2 separate regions of the Homo sapiens genome follow, and region 1 is linked to region 2. The links are contacts of gene promoters, found by promoter capture Hi-C in human tissues and cell types (Jung and others, 2019). All regions are on one chromosome and are shown on one strand. The core of a region is centred on a gene start or on the middle of the fragment in contact, and the rest is flanking DNA. Distances in the headings are between cores, read along the strand shown. Region 1 holds the start of LTK (leukocyte receptor tyrosine kinase). Region 2 overlaps MAPKBP1 (mitogen-activated protein kinase binding protein 1).

Evidence for each region. The method cuts DNA at HindIII sites, captures the fragments that hold promoters and counts their contacts. A contact is called where the count stands out against the background at its distance.
Region 1: a contact is called between the fragment with the promoter of LTK here and a fragment that was not itself captured in region 2, in 1 of the 25 tissues and cell types used here (mesenchymal stem cells).

The regions. Positions count from the first base shown.
Region 1 is chr15:41,512,569-41,515,268 of GRCh38, reverse strand. LTK (leukocyte receptor tyrosine kinase) reads left to right here and starts at 1,442. Exons shown (of 20, transcript NM_002344.6): 1 at 1,442-1,602; 2 at 2,149-2,292; 3 at 2,391-2,562. The coding sequence starts at 1,560. RefSeq lists a silencer at 2,077-2,156 and an enhancer at 1,863-2,610. The HindIII fragment of the contact is 13,334 bases long and covers 1-2,700 here.
Region 2 is chr15:41,790,818-41,793,517 of GRCh38, reverse strand. All of the region lies in intron 2 of MAPKBP1 (mitogen-activated protein kinase binding protein 1), which reads right to left. Among named protein-coding and RNA genes, the nearest start is that of MAPKBP1, 18 kb to the right of the region's middle. The HindIII fragment of the contact is 8,436 bases long and covers 1-2,700 here.

The DNA.
Region 1 (2,700 bases), core at 193-2,692, 280 kb after region 2:
AGGCACCTGCCACCACGCACGGCTAATTTTTGTATTTTTAGTAGAGACGGGGTTTCACCATCTTAGCCAGGCTGGTCTTGAACTCCTGACCTTGTGATCCACCCCACCCCCACCGTCCCCTTGGCCTCCCAAAGTGCTGGGATTACAGGTGTAAGCCACCACGCCTGGCTGAGACCAGACTTTTTACAAAATCACTGTTCTGTTTACACCTTGAATTATACTCAGACTTTACCAAGTAGCTAACTACTATAACTTCTCTTTTGAAGTATTTTGTATTAAACATAGGTCTCAGACTTTCAAGTTAGGATTTTTTTTTTTTTTTTTTTTTTGAGATGGGGCTTTGCTCTTGTTGCCCAGGCTGGAGTGCAATGGTGCGATCTCGTCTCTGCAACCTCTGCCTCCCAGGTTCAAGCCATTCTCCTGCCTCAGCCTCCAGAGTAGCTGGGATTACAGGCGTGCGCTACCACGTGTGTCTGATTTTGTATTTTTAGTAGAGACGGGATTTTGCCATGATGGTCTAGCTAGTCTCGAACTCCTGACCTCAGGTGATCTGCCCGCCTCAGCCTCCCAAAGTGCTAGGATTACAGGCATGAACCACCGCACCCGGCAAATGATCATTTAAGCAAATGATCGAAGACTCAAGACACAAAACTACCTGAAGGGAGTGGCTCCCACATTTGTAGGGTACCTTACAGAGCAATTTCCCTTCATATGATTTTGCAGGTGGTGGGGAAACTCTCAGGGCAGTTGTGGCCTGTGCTACATCACCCATTGACCAGAGGTGCCAGTACTAGTGCTCAAGATCAATCGATCGATCGGTCTACCTACCTATCATCTATTGACCTTCAGTGCTACTAAAAACACTCGGATCTTCTAACGTCTGGTCCAGTCTTTCACCCCATCACAGTGAGAGGCTGTGCACAGGGGTAACACAGGCAACGGAATTATATGAGGCAAACACAGAGATCCAGGTTTCTGGGAGTAGCAATGAGGTTCAGCCTTGCAGTCACAAAGGCACCACTAAAAGGCACAAGTAATGGCAGGTAATGAGGCCTTACTTGGAGCAGTTTAGAGTACTTCCCACGTGTGGTGACGCATGCCACACACTCACCACCACCACCACTGCCACAAATGAAGTGCACACTCCACTGCTCCTGTCCTCAGGAACCTGGAAGCCCCCACCTGGTGTCCGAGGTGTGGCTCCCACTTTAAGCGTGGGGCACCTCCTCTCCGGCCTCAAACCTACCGGAGCTCCCAGCAGGCTGCGGCACATCTGACGGCTGGAAACTAGAACCCCTGGGTGGGGACTCCTTAAGGCTCCTCCCGGAAGCGTAGGGACCTCGCTGCCCACACGCCCCTCCCTTTCCTCCTCTGGCGTCCTGGGGTCTGAGGTGGGCGTGGCCAGACCAGCTTTAGGTCCGGGGAGTGTCTCGCCAGCGGCAGCACACCCCTGTAAGTGGTGGCCAGGGCTGCCGTGGCAAAATGAGCTGTCAACTTTAGGTTGACAGGGGTGTGGCCGCGACCGCAAGGGCTTTTGTTGCCGGGTGGACCCAACAGGGATGGGCTGCTGGGGACAGCTGCTGGTGTGGTTCGGAGCCGCGGGTAAGTGCTATCTGGCGGTCAGGGGACCGTCCAGCCTGAGGCACTTTCCTAGGCTTGGGGGTGGCCGGTCAACAGGCCAGGTGTCAGTGGTTCCTCCAGAGGCCTCGAACTCTCACAGCCAAATTTCTCCGGTCCGTGCTTCTGGAGTGCGGGCCGAGAAGCGCCAAGTGCGTGCGAATCCCAGAGTCTGGATCACGCAGCTTGGGAAGGAGGAACATTCTTTGGGGTCTCAGCACCGCCTTGGGGCGGGGCCACCAATCTAAGTTGAGGAAAGCATTGGGGAGGCTGCAGGACCAAATTCATTGCGGCCCCTAAGTTATTCACTGGGAAAGGCGCTCGAGGAGAGAAACTGGCAGACCTATCAGCGCGCACCCGCGGGGCTTCTGCGACCGGAGTCGGGTAGTGGCTTCCAGGCTGAGAGCGCGGCTGGGCCGGGTGACGGGTGTGGCCGCGACCGCAAGGGCAGCTGTTGCGGGGTTCTCTCTTTCTTTCATATCCTATTTCCACCCGCCTTAACGTCCTGCGCCTTCTCCCAACACCTTTCAGGCGCCATTCTCTGCTCTAGCCCGGGGTCCCAGGAGACTTTTCTGCGGTCCTCGCCCCTGCCGCTGGCAAGTCCCAGCCCCCGGGACCCGAAAGTCAGCGCCCCGCCTAGTATCTTGGAGCCAGCCTCCCCGCTGAATTCTCCGGGTGAGCTTTAGACGCCTCCTTCCTCTTTCGCTCACCATACCAGACCCCTCTGGCCCAGCCAGGGGCTCGACGACCCTTGCCTCGCTCCTTGCTCTCAGGCACCGAGGGGTCTTGGCTGTTTTCTACCTGCGGGGCCAGCGGCCGGCATGGGCCCACACAGACACAATGTGACGGGGCGTACGCGGGGACCAGCGTGGTGGTGACCGTGGGGGCCGCCGGGCAGCTGAGAGGCGTGCAGCTGTGGCGCGTGCCGGGCCCTGGCCAGTATCTGTAAGTGCACGGCGGAGGTAGGGTGGACAGTGACCTGCTAGTTGGAGGTTTCACCCTCAGGGTAACGAAGTCCACGTGCGCACCGACTTGCGTCTTGGACTATTCCGCGGGGAGGTCCACCTTGAGTGCCCTTCAAGG
Region 2 (2,700 bases), core at 25-2,524:
CCCATTACATATTAACATTCTTTTTTTATTTTTATTTATTTTTTTGAGACGGAGTCTCACTGTGTTACCCAGACTGGAGTGCAGTGGCACAATCTTGCCTCACTGCAAGCTCACACTATTCTCCTGCCTCAGCCTCCCGAGTAGCTGGTACTACAGGCACATGCCACCACGTCCGGCTAATTTTTTGTATTTTTAGTAGAGACGGGGTTTCACCGTGTTAGCCAGTATGGTCTCGATCTCCTGACCTCATGATCCACCCATCTCGGCCTCCCAAAGTGCTGGGATTACAGGCGTGAGCGACTGCACCCAGCCCACATATTAGCGTTCTTATTAAATATAACTTTATTTTCCAAAACAAAAATAATTAGTGAGAAGAATGGCACTGTTTTACATTTTTGCAAACCTTTTTCATATCTGGCTTAACAGAAGGGAGCTGGGTTCTCATATCTGCATCTGCATTCAATCTGTCCTGACATTATCTAGTGGAAGTATGCGAAGAAAACCTAGCCTCATTTGGATATGTAGTTGGAAACAGGACATCATGGACCCCCTAAAGGGGTTTTGGGGACTCCAGGCTTCTCAGACCACACTCTGAGAACCAATGACCCACCCCTCTAAATACTACAGCATCTTTCCACATGAGGAAGCAAGCCCACAAGTGAGAGTTCTGGCCTCAAGGATCGCTTGAAGAAAGTGAGTTAGGAAAGAGGCCCTGCGAGAAAATTACTGTCCATAAAGTCTGGGATTCAGCCCAAAGTTCTGACAGGAACTTCAGCTCCAAACCTTCAAGGCCCAAATGCCGATGAAATACAGCCCAGGAGACACACCAGTCCAGGCAACTGTGTCTGGGCAGTGACTTGGGACACAACTGCTGCAGGCAGCTGGCACCCTGACCCATCCATCTACAGCTCTAGGAACACTGCTTCATGCACAAGTGGAAACTCAGAAGGAAGAAGAGAGGACCCACTTGGTTCTCTACAGTGAGCTCCTCCACACCCAGAATGCAGCCTTGAAGCATGGAGAATACCCAAACTGTGACCCAGCTTTTGCTTTGGCAGGTGGACAGTGTTGAGATGGAAGAAAGCGTATACCAACCTGACAGAGGTGTCATCTTTCCCCTGAAGCAAGGCTACTGGAGGCAGAATTACTACAAGTATAATGTGAGGGAGGGCTTGAATACCCACCACTCCCAGTAGGAACTAGGCAGAGCACTATCATATCCTCCAGAGAGAAAGAGGGCCAGCAAAATCATCTCTCACTTTAATAAGATAAAGGGGTAACTTCATACTAGCCTATTCCCAGGAGAGAAAGAAAGAATAAAGCCACGTGTTTAAGTGCTCTTCTGGCTCTCATTAAAGTAGATGGAAAAAACAGGTGGCGTAGAGGCAAGAGACAGGACTGCTCATTCATACTAGATAGAACAGTAGTTTCCAGCCTGCAGATTGCAGTCTTTTTTTTTTTTGAGATGGAGTTTTACTCTTGTTACCCAGGCTAGACTGCAATGGCACGATCTCGGCTGACAGCAACCTCCACCTCCCGGGTTCAAGTGATTCTACTGCCTCAGCCTCCCAAGTAGCTGGGATTACAGGCATGCGCCACCACACCTGGCTAATTTTATATTTTTAGTAGAGACGGGGTTTCTCCATGTTGGTCAGGCTGGTCTCAAACTCCCAACCTCAGACAACACCTATTTTTAGAGCATGGAGAAGATGAGGTACAGGCAGTGAGAAAGAGAGGAGGAGAACCAGGAAGCCAGTGAAGTGGAGAGCTCCCAGAAGGGAGGGGTGATTAATAGTGAGTGCTGAAAGAAATGAAGGAGGCAAGGACAGAACTCTCCAGAGTCCAGAGCCATCCTCAACAGAGGTGGCACAGCATAAGATCCCAAGCGGTCCCAGAGCCCTAAACATACAATCCTAGACACTGGGCAGGGCCTTCGAAGCTTTTCTGCTCTCTCAAGTCCCTGGATCTGATCAGTTCACGAGCTAGAGGACAGGCACTAGCCAATGGAAGCGAGTCCAGGTGGAGCCAAGACAGTGGCACTGTTAGGAAGGGCTTCCTGCTTGGACCCACAACAGAAGTTGGCAGGAAATGCTTTCCCTTTTAGTGTGAGGGACCACTACAGGAAGTCTGCAATGGCACGGGAGTGGCTGCTCCCTTGAGATAGAGAACTAAGAGGCCAGAGTCACAAAAGGCCAGGGTCCCCTAGGATTTGGCTGACCTCATACTGGTAAAGAAACCCCAGCAACTGTGAGGAAAAAGATCTGTTTTTGTTGCTATGTTTTGTTGCCACCAGCTACTTTCTTCCCCCTTTTCCCTTCCCCCACTTCTCAATCCCACTCAATTCAAGTTATAAATACCTGAGTTGTAAGTCATTCCAGCCAAACCATGGACTTGCTGTTTCTATAAACAAGCATGTCAGAGACCTGTCCAAGGCAGAGCACTCTTCGCCTTCCCCTCCCTTCCTGCAGGTTAAGAACTATATTTGTCTCTTGCCCACACACTACACTCTAATCTCACAAAGCAGATTCTCTACCAGATTCTGAGAACTGCCACTTAACGCAAAAGCCACAGAAGAAGCCAAGGCCAGGAGGCTTTGTGCAGAGACTTAGACAGTAGGGCAGGGACCCAGTGACCAGACCTGGGAATGGGGAGGAAGGGCAGGTATCATGCCCAGGCTAACTCATTCCTGTTGCTTCAAAG